2 separate regions of the Homo sapiens genome follow, and region 1 is linked to region 2. Evidence: promoter capture Hi-C in human tissues and cell types (Jung and others, 2019). All regions are on one chromosome and are shown on one strand. The core of a region is centred on a gene start or on the middle of the fragment in contact, and the rest is flanking DNA. Distances in the headings are between cores, read along the strand shown. Region 1 overlaps SPDL1 (spindle apparatus coiled-coil protein 1). Region 2 holds the start of FBLL1 (fibrillarin like 1).

What was found. Contacts are between HindIII fragments. The study calls those that stand out against the background at their distance.
Region 1: a contact is called between a fragment that was not itself captured here and the fragment with the promoter of FBLL1 in region 2, in 1 of the 25 tissues and cell types used here (spleen).

What each region holds. Positions count from the first base shown.
Region 1 is chr5:169,588,235-169,593,797 of GRCh38, forward strand. SPDL1 (spindle apparatus coiled-coil protein 1) reads left to right here. Exons shown (of 12, transcript NM_017785.5): 2 at 160-341; 3 at 2,814-2,990; 4 at 5,120-5,314. The coding sequence starts at 183. Among named protein-coding and RNA genes, the nearest start is that of SPDL1, 7.2 kb to the left of the region's middle. The HindIII fragment of the contact is 6,144 bases long and covers 687-5,563 here.
Region 2 is chr5:168,527,314-168,532,600 of GRCh38, forward strand. FBLL1 (fibrillarin like 1) reads left to right here and starts at 1,992. Exons shown (of 1, transcript NM_001355274.2): 1 at 1,992-3,321. The coding sequence starts at 2,192. The coding sequence ends at 3,196. RefSeq lists a silencer at 1,151-1,445 and enhancers at 2,299-2,840, 3,696-3,865. The HindIII fragment of the contact is 8,115 bases long and covers 1-4,545 here.

The DNA of each region.
Region 1 (5,563 bases), core at 2,509-5,008, 1.1 Mb after region 2:
TGGAACAAGAATGCAAATTTGACTACTTATTAGTCAGGAAGAAAATTTTAATGTTTTTATACGACAGTAGTATTGAGTAGATATGTTTCTTCTGTTATTGATATTATTGCATGGAGTTTTTTGTATAAGCTTAAGTAGTTTTATTTCCTCTATTTACAGTTGGCTAAAAAAAAGAAAAGAACATGGAGGCAGATATAATCACAAATCTTCGATGCAGGCTCAAAGAGGCTGAAGAAGAGCGACTAAAAGCTGCACAGTATGGTTTACAACTAGTAGAGAGTCAAAATGAATTACAGAATCAATTGGATAAATGTCGTAATGAAATGATGACCATGACTGAGGTAGGACTCTGGACTCCTCTGTCTGCAAGAGTGTGCTTAGCTATTGAAGATTTGTCCTGTTTAGCAATTAATAGTAGTAGTAGTTTATTCTTTTCTGAAGATTTTAGATCTAGTTCCCGCCCTGCCCCGTCCCTGTTAAAAAAGAATGAACTAAATGAATTCCTGTTATTCTTTCCACCCTAGTGTATTCAGAGTTTGAAAGATCAAGTTATCATTACTCTCTTTGCCACATTTACTACCAGATTTTGCTTTGTCTGCACACTTCCTAGAAGACCTCACTTGTTTTAGACCTCTAAACATCTAAGTGCCCCATGACACTACACCAAGCCCTTAGTTCCCCCATGAAATCTAGGTTTGTGTTCAACTGCCCACTAATAGACTTCTCAAACTTAACACAGACAGAAGAGTGGATTCCCTGTCCGTTAACCAAATATTCTTTTACGATTTTTTTTAGCTTATTTAGTAAATATAATAGCATTCAGTTTCTTGAACACCAAAAATCTTTATATACCAAAGATTTTTGGTATATTTTTGGTTTCTTTATATACCAAAAATCTAGAACTTTTAGTCAATATCTTCCCTTTATTTCTCACATTTCACTCATTAATAAGTTCTAAGAACTAGACTACAAAGCATGTATCTTTGCTACTGGCACTGTAGTCCAGATCACCATCATCACTCCTAGACAAGTATTGTAGCCTTCTGGCCGGGTTGCCTGCTTCCATTGTTGCCATTCATGCCATTCATTCTTCACTCAGCGTCTAAGTGGTCGTGGAATAACACACCAAAGGTCATGCCACAGCCCTGCTAAAAACCATACAACAGCTTCTGATTTTATTTACAACAAAATCTGAGCTCCATCCTTGGGTTTGTAGATCCCTATGTGACCTGACCCCTGCCAAGCTTCTGACCTCACCTCAAACTGCTTTGCCTTGTTCTTGACTATACTGGTCCTCCCTTATGGGCTTTACACCAGCTATTGCCTTTTTTTTTTTTTTGAGTTGTTTACCCCTCACTGCTCTTGGGTTGAGTCCTCAGATTTCAGCTTTCATTTAAATGTCACTTCAGCGGAGAGGTCAGCCCTTACTATGTAATGTAAAGTTGCCCTGATTCACTTTTTTTTTCTTTTTTCTTTTTTTTTTTTGAAACAGGGTCTCACTCTGTCGCCCAGGCTGGAGTGCAGTGGCGCAATCTTGGCTCACTGCATCCTCCACCTCCTGGGTTCAAGAGATTCTCCTACCTCAGCCTTCCGAGTAGCTCGGGGTTACAGATGTGTGCCACCACATCCGGCTAATTTTTGTGTTTTTAGTAGAGATGGGGTTTCACCATGTTGACCAGGCTGGTCTTGAACTCCTGGCTTCACGTAATCTGCCTGCCGAAGTGCTGGGATTACAGGCATGAGCCGTTGTGCCCGGCCCTGATTCCACTCTTAATTATCTGCATTGCTAATTATCTCTAGATTATAAACTCCATGAGAGAGGGAATTTTGTATGCCTTGTTCACTATCCTGAATGCCTGCCACACGATTATTTCTTAAAAGAATGAATGAATAAATCTGGGTAATTTAGCAAATGCTCAGTAACATATTTAAACTTGAATCTCAACATTGTAAATATGGCAGGTAAAAAATATCTGTAGCAGGTAAAAATAACTAGTGATGGCAACCTTTGTGTTTCTACATAGTACTGTTGTAAACCAAGAACTGAGTGCAAAGTCATAAAGGCAAAGTAAAGATTACAAATATCACTAATAGAAAATAAAACTGTTATACTTAATCATTTTGAGTCATAACTTGTCAAATTTCAGTGTTTAACAGTTAATACTCTTTGTCTTCCTTTAAAATAAAATGGTTTTTGAGGGGAATATTTTATCATTTTTTAAAGCCTCTTGAAGGAGTTCGTACTTGTAACATTTTTAATGTCTAAACTTCCCTGTGAGTAAGCAAAAGCCCTTTTAATTACTCCTTTTGTCTCAGCTCTGCATTCATTCTGATAGACCTTTTGTGACATTTCTCAGATGACTACATTCTGAAAGTAAAGGCTAATTCAGTATTTCTTTTTTTTCAACTATTATTACTACTACATTGTGTTCAGAGCTACAAGTAGAGCATCTCATTATCAAACTAATAATTCTCATGAGGAAAGCTTAAGTGCTGTTAAATCTTTTTTTGTTGTTAGCAGAGATTACTTGACTTGACGTGTTGACATACCATGGAGCACATTTTACTTCCTTGACAAGGCACAGAAGCAGTAAGGTATCCCTTGCATGGGTTTAACATAGTTTCGAAATACACCTCAGGGGTTTATTAAGACTGATTAACTACAAAGTTATTCCAGGTTTAACATGTCTTCGTTATTTGGAAAGCAGCAAATGCTTGAAATAAGAATGAAACAATTGAAGTTGAAAACTGATTGTATGTAATGGCTTTAGGCTATTTTTATGTAATTGAATTGTAATTGAATCTGTTTTCAGAGTTATGAACAAGAAAAATATACCCTTCAAAGAGAAGTTGAACTCAAGAGTCGAATGTTAGAAAGTTTGAGCTGCGAATGTGAAGCTATTAAACAACAACAAAAAATGCACCTGGAGAAATTGGAAGAACAACTAAGCAGAAGCCATGGACAGGAAGTGAATGAACTAAAAACTAAGGTTGGGATATCTGCGTATTTCAGCACAAAATATTCCATATTTATGCAGCCATCTGTAAACTTTAGATGATAAAGATTTTCTTAAGTGTCAGCTTTGCAAAATAGCCAAGATCTAAGTCTTCATTATCTTAATATTGGGGGTGGGAACACTGAGATACAAGAGTTTGTCTAAGGGACTTGTATAAATTATATCCTATTAATTAAATACAATTATTTAATTTTGGTTGCTGGATATTTGTGAAGGTTTAGTTTAGTGACTAGCATGGCCTCCTTGCTGATAGTGGGTACAGCAGCCCCTTGCAGAAAGCCTCGTCTCCTAGCCTTCCCTGCAGTCAGTGGTATGCTTTGTAATTCTGTAAAACAGACCAGTAGTTTCTTACTAGTTAATGTGCATTACAAATGACACTTTATAGTTTGTTTACTGAGGATAAACTAATACATGTGCTCCAGTTCTTACAATAATATTGTGGAAAGGTACCATTATCATTTCCATATACCAGATGAAAGAGCCAGTGTTTAGACAGACTGAGTAAATTGGACACAATTCAAGAACTAGAAATTCTCCATCTAGGTTTGAACTGAGGCTGTCTGACTCCAAAGGCTGTGTTACTGAATCACTACATAGTCTAACAGCATGTTACACTGGCTCCATTTCAAACATAAACGCAAGATAAATGATTGGTCAGTGGTTTTCCCTTTTCCCAGCTAGCCAGTGCTTTCAGGTTGCTTCTGAGGAATCCAGAACTTTTTATCATGGATCTGCTTTGTGTATAGTCTATACTCTGACTTTTCCAGACACTGTCTACCAAAACTTGCCTGACTTTTGTCCTCCTTTCTCAGAAGTCTGTTACCCAATTTTCAGCTTCTTGTATAGCAGCCTCTAAGATTTTTCTTTTTCTGTATACCACCTATACTATTACTTAATTTCTCATTGACTCTCTTTTAATGTTTACTGATTTTAAGAAACATCAATGAAAGTATTTTTTTTTCCTTTTTTTTTTTTTTTTTTTTGAGGCAGAGTCTCACACTGTCGCCCAGGCTGGAGTGCAGTGGCATGATCTCGGCTCACCTGCAACCTCTGCCTCCCGGGTTCAAACGATTCTCCTGCCTCAGGCTCCTAAGTGGCTGGGATTACAGGTGTGCGCCACCACGCCCAGCTAATTTTTGTATTTTAATAGAGACAGGGTTTCACCATGTTGGTCAGGCTGGTCTCTAACTCCTGACCTCGTGATCCGCCCACTTCAGCCTCGCAAAGTGCTGGGATTACAGGCCTGAGCCACTGCGCCTGGCCAAAATTACATATTTAAGCTTGCTTATTTTTTCCCAGTATACACTAAAACAAACATAGCTATCTAAATATACCTTCATGTAATATATAATCATCTTGCATACCACTCTGACAGATAATATCATCCAGCTTGTCTGAAACTAGTCGGATTTGAGGCCCTAATGACTGATAATGATGTGCTTTCTTCCCCCTCTGGTTGTTATTTTTATTTTTGCAATAGTTTTCATCACCTAAACAAAAAAGAGTAATAAAGGGAGTATTCAGGACTGAGGTAAGGCTAATTATAGAGATGGCTTTTTTTTTTTTTTTTTTTTTTGGTGGAGCAAAGAGTACATTAGTGAAATATTTTGTTTTACTGATTTTCTCAAATCACTTATGCCAAAATTTGGATTTTTTTAATACCTTTTCTTCTCTTATTTTTCACATTTAATTCATCAAGTTCTAAGAACTTGACCTACAAAACATCTATGACGCTACTGCCACTCCAATCCAGACCTTCATCATCTCTTTCCTGGACTACTGCTGTAGCCTTCTGACCAGGTTGCTTGCTTCCATTGTTTCTCTTCATGCCAGTCATTCTTCACACAGTAGCCAAGTGGTCCGCATCATAGTGCCTCCAGATTGCTTCTGAGGCATCCAGACCCACCCCGATTACTCATGGATTATTTCTATGTTTATTAAACAAGGTGTGTCACTAGCTGTTAAAAGATGCCTAACCTTGGGCAAATAGGAAACTCCAATAGTATCATCATTCAGTAAGTTTGGTTCAATCAGTTCAATCAGTGATTGTTTTTAGAAAGAAAATAACTTTCAATTTATGACTTTTTTTTTTTTGGCTTTAGATAGAAAAACTGAAAGTGGAATTAGATGAAGCCAGGCTTAGTGAAAAGCAGCTGAAGCACCAAGTAGATCATCAGAAGGAACTCCTCTCTTGTAAATCAGAGGAACTGCGCGTAATGTCTGAACGTGTGCAGGAAAGCATGTCTTCAGAGATGCTGGCTCTTCAAATTGAGCTGACAGAAATGGAGAGTATGAAGGTAATTTTTATGGCATGTGTTTCTCAGGGTTTTCTCTTTTTTTTTCTGGCATATTTTTACATGTTTTGGTAATAATTCTTAAGAGCTAGTTTGAAGGCTGAAACATTTTTTGACCTAACTTGCATCTAACTAATTAAAAAATGGGTTTTTTTTAGGTGGATGACTTCATTCATAATATAGCTTTAGACTATATGATTATGTAAGGCAGCCTTTCTCTTAGATTAATGAAACGTCTGGAAGAATTTAGAG
Region 2 (5,287 bases), core at 742-3,241:
CTTCCACACAGTTTCTCAGAATACTCACAGCAATTGAGCTCCCATTGTCCACTGTGGTCATCTACTCATTAATCTACCCTCTTTTTTTTTTTTTTTTTTTTTTTGAGACAGGGTCTCCCTCTGTCACCTAAGCTGGAGTGTAGTGGTGTGAGTTCAGCTCACTGCAGCCTTGATCTCCCAGGCTCAAGCGACCCCTCCAGCTCAGCCTCCTCAGTAGCTGAGGTACTACAGGTACTACAGTGACTACAGGTACTACAGTGACTACAGGTACACACCATGACACCTGGCTAAGTCTTGTTTATTTTTGTAGAGACAGGGTCTTGCTATCATGCTAGGACTGGTCTTGAACTCGTGGGCTCAATCAATCCTCCCACCTTGGCCTCCCAAAGTGCTGGGATTACAGGTGTGAGGCACTGTGCCCAGTTCTTTCTTAACCTTTCTATCTTCTCTATCTCATTTTTGCCTCCCCAACATGTGCTTCCTGGGATCACCTCACAAACCAATTGGACTCAAGGCTTTGTCTCAGGATCTCTATTATTCAAGGTTCTCCAAAGACACAGGCCTGTAGGATATATATATGTGTGTATATATAGGATATATATTGGCTCATGTGATTGTGGAGACCAGCAGGTCCAAAATCCGCAGGGCCAATGTCCCAGTCCAAAGGTTGTCAGGCAGAAAGAGCTGATGTGCCAGTTGAAAGGCCCTTGGGCAGGAGAATTCTCTCTTCCGTGGGGAAGGTCAGCATTTTGCTTTATTTCTGCCTTCAACTGATTAGATGAGGCCCAGCCACATCGTAGACGGCAATCAGCTTTACTCAATATACCAATTTAAATGTTAATCTCATCAAAAAACACCCTCACAGAAACACTCAGAATACTATTTGACCAAATATCTGGGCATCCCATGGCCCAGTAAAGTTGACACATAAAATTAACCCTCACAGACACCAAGTGTAGTTCATCATTTTGGAAAATATTCACCTTATAGCAAGAATGGAAACCTCTAAGTAGAGTATTTTATGTGAACCATTCAACCTCAGGAATCATACATTTCACTCACTGATCCCTTGTTCACATTCCAGTGTATAAAACTCTGGTCCCCATTAAGGAGACACTCCAGTCCTCAGGGAAAATCAGACCTGGCACTGTCGTCCATGAGTATGAGACGGGAAGAGCTGTGGTCCAGGATGGAACGGAAGTCATACTGCACATACCAGGTGTTCAGTAAATGCTCCGATCTTCAGGTGCGCGTTGTCTCTCTCTCTCTCTCTCTCGAGTAGACACTTAATTCAACTAACGGGAGGCTGGCCAGTTGTTTCACCACCTATCCTACTTTCCCCAGCTCTTGTGTGGTTCCCAAAGCCCCTAGCAGTAGCCAAAACGGGGGCCCCAACTGCTGTCGCTGTCCCTGGTGCTGACTAAACCCTAAAGCCTCTGCGTTGCGGCCTTGGGGCCATTGGTGGTGCCGAGTTATTCTTTTATTTTCTTTCTGTTCTTTTCTTTTTTTCTTTTCTTCTCGTTGCTGCCCTTGGTGCTGCCCAATTATTCTTTTCTTTTCTTCTCCTCTCCCTCTCTCTCTTTTCTTTCTCTCTCTTTCTTTCTTTTTCTCTTTTTCTTTCTTTCCTCAAGAAAATGCTGCAGATTTAGAGAGTGACTTTGAAGCATAGACTAGACTTCGAGGATGAACATGACATTTTGGCTCTCTGTGTATCCCCATTCACACTGAAGAATCAACAACACTTCCTTGCTGATCAATAGTCCCAGAACTGGTGGCACAGCCAGGACCGACGCTGATGCTTACCTCCCCCTCTCCTGCAGCAGAGACGCCCCCGTCCCTGTGGCCCAGGGAAGTGCCAGGGATCCCTGGGAAGGCGGGAGATGGGGAAGGGGCAGGGTGAGCGAAGAGGAGCAGGCTGCGTCTGCACGCGGGCTGGGAAGCGGGGCTTCCGGGCCGCAGGGTCGCGGGGACGGGTGTGATGCAATCGCGCCACAGCCGCTGCGTCAAGGGGCGGCTCCGGGATGCGGGCACTGCGGTAGAGCCCGTCCTGCCCCCGCCGCCCGCCGCCCGCCGCCCGCCTCCGCTGCTAAACCCGCGGACAACCGCCGGGACGACCACCCAGAGCCACCAGAGCCCCCTGACACCCGCCCCGAGGCACCGGTAACCCACGGCACCCGCCCCGGTGCGTGCCATGAAGTCGGCCGCGAGCTCGCGCGGGGGCGGTGGGGGCGGCCGCGGGGGCGGCGGCTGGGGCAGCTGGGGCGGGGGCCGAGGCGGCGGCGGCGGCGCGGGCAAGGGCGGCGGGGGCGACGGCGGCGGCCAGGGGGGCAAGGGCGGCTTCGGGGCGCGGGCGCGCGGCTTCGGCGGGGGCGGCCGGGGCCGGGGGCGCGGCGGCGGCGACGGCAAGGATCGCGGCGGCGGTGGACAGCGGCGGGGCGGCGTGGCCAAGAGCAAGAGCCGCCGCAGGAAGGGCGCCATGGTGGTGTCGGTGGAGCCGCACCGGCACGAGGGCGTCTTCATCTACCGCGGGGCGGAGGACGCGCTGGTCACGCTGAACATGGTGCCGGGCCAGTCTGTGTACGGCGAGAGGCGCGTCACGGTGACCGAGGGCGGCGTGAAGCAGGAGTACCGCACGTGGAACCCGTTCCGCTCTAAGCTGGCCGCGGCCATCCTGGGCGGGGTGGACCAGATCCACATCAAGCCCAAGTCCAAGGTGCTGTACCTGGGCGCCGCGTCGGGCACCACCGTCTCCCATGTCTCCGACATCATTGGCCCAGACGGCCTGGTCTACGCCGTCGAGTTCTCCCACCGCGCCGGCCGCGATCTGGTCAACGTGGCCAAGAAGCGCACCAACATCATTCCGGTCCTGGAGGACGCGCGGCACCCGCTCAAGTACCGCATGCTCATCGGGATGGTGGACGTGATCTTCGCCGACGTGGCCCAGCCGGACCAGTCCCGCATCGTGGCCCTGAACGCCCACACCTTCCTGCGCAATGGGGGCCACTTTCTCATCTCCATCAAGGCCAACTGCATCGACTCCACCGCATCCGCCGAGGCTGTGTTTGCTTCTGAGGTGAGGAAGTTGCAGCAGGAGAACTTGAAGCCTCAAGAGCAGCTGACCCTGGAGCCCTATGAGCGGGACCACGCTGTGGTGGTCGGGGTCTACCGACCTCTTCCCAAGAGCAGCAGCAAATAGCACCCAGCTCAGGCTCGCCTGCCATCTCCCCAAGGCTGCGTTGTGTTTGCTATTATTTTCTGTGTGTTTTCTTTGTGAGTGTTTTGTTTTGTTGTTTTTCTATTAAACTGCATAAAGAAACGGCACCTATCTGTATGGTGATGCCAGGCTAGGTTTTGCTGCAGTAACAATCAACCCCCAAATCCCAGTGGCCTAAACCGGCTGGTATAAGGGGCCCATCCAGCAGTAGCCTGGGAGCTGTGCTCATTCTAATCACTCAGGTCTCCAACTCCCCAGGGCCCCATTTTCACACATGCTCCCCCCATCCCTAGGGCAGAGGAAAGAGAGCTGCGGAATTGCTAATAAAAGCTTTTAAATGTCCCCTTGGAACTGATGGGGCACTTCTGCTCACATTTGGCCAAGTCACATGACCCAGCCTGACTCGGGAAAAACACTGAATGTTGGTGGACAATAATATAGTCAAACACACCAATCATCTGACTCACAGCCAAAGTCTTAACCACAATAGGTTTTTAGTATTTTACTCTTCAACTAAGCCCTTTTGCATTCACTGTTAAAGTGAATAATAAATAAATGTTAAATTTATTCCTCACACCAGCCCTGAGATGGCTTTGTTAGCACTTGCATATTACATGTGAAGCAACAGGGCTTCTGAAGGTAAACTATTTTGCCCAAACGTACATAGCCAGTAAGGAGGTAGAACTTAAATGCCAGTCTTCGGGGCTCTAAATCCATTGCTGTTTCCTCAGCACCAGGGGGATCTTGTCTCTGGTCCCCAACCCCTATGGCATGTGCACAGGGACACACTTAGAGCAGGGCCCTGTGACCTTATTGTGTTCTTTCGCCCTCCCCTGTCCCCCCCGGGCTACCCCTTTGTTTGGTTTCACAATAGCAAAACAAGATGCGGGGCAGATGTGGGTCTAGCTAGCAGACTGTCTCTACTACAGGGCATAACATACCCAAAGTGGTATCACCAAGTGTCTGCAGAACAGGCAGACAAATTACTCCCAGAAAGTATCTGTCTTTGCAAGGCATGTCCTGCACTTCCCAAGTTGCTGGTCTCAGTACCTCGCAGTCTCTCTCCAAAGCAGCCCAAAGGGAAGGGAGAGTGGGTAATCCGAGGAAAGCTGAGAATGCCCCAAAGGCCCAGTAAATCCCTCCAAGCCAGACTTTTCATTCATTCATGCATGCATGCATACACACTCCCAACTGCCAAAAAGACCCACATCAACATTTAGTCTTTGAATGATTGCTCACTAATGTATCATTTGGAGGGTGGATTTGCCTTTCTAAAGATGTGCTTGGGCAGCAATTGTGGTTAGTCTGCTTTTTCTGAGGGCATACTTCTTGAACAACAACAAAGGATAAATCAGACTTTTTATTTTTGTTTTATTTTATTTATTTTATTTGAGACAGGTCTTGCTCTGTCGCCAAGGCTGGAATGCAGTGGCGCAATCATGGCTCACTGCAGCCTTGAACTCCTAGGCTTAAGTGATCTTCCTGCCTCAGCCTACCACACCTGGCTAATTTAAAAAAAAAATGTTTGTGGAGAAACAGTGTCTCGCTTTGTTGCCGAGGCTGGTCTTGAACTCCTTGCTTCAAGAAATCCTCCTGCCTCAGACTCCCACACTGGGATTAGAGGCGTGAGCTATGGCACCTGGTCCAAATCAGACTTTTGAAAAGGCTGCCACTCTTTCACCACTCCCCCATCCTACGCCACCCCAAAATTCAGAAAGGGAATTACAGTTCAGATGTATCAGCAAGACTGACTCAGGAAGAAGAGAGTGAATGCCGTACATGTCTATTTCCATAAACAATGGAAATCTTCATTACAACCCTGCAAAGCCAGGATCACTTTTCCTATTTAGCATATAAGAACACTGCAGTTCAGAGATGAAAGTGCCTGGTTTAAGATCCCCCAGAAAGGCTCACAGCCAGAAATCACAGCTTTGTTAGTCTGACTCCAAAACCTATGTCATTTTCACTGAAGTCTGTGCTGGTTCTGTTGCCTTGAAAAGCCCTCTCTCCAATCCTAGGCTAATTTATTAGTTGCTGTGATGAAGCCCTGAGGCTGGGGTGGACTCCCTGGGA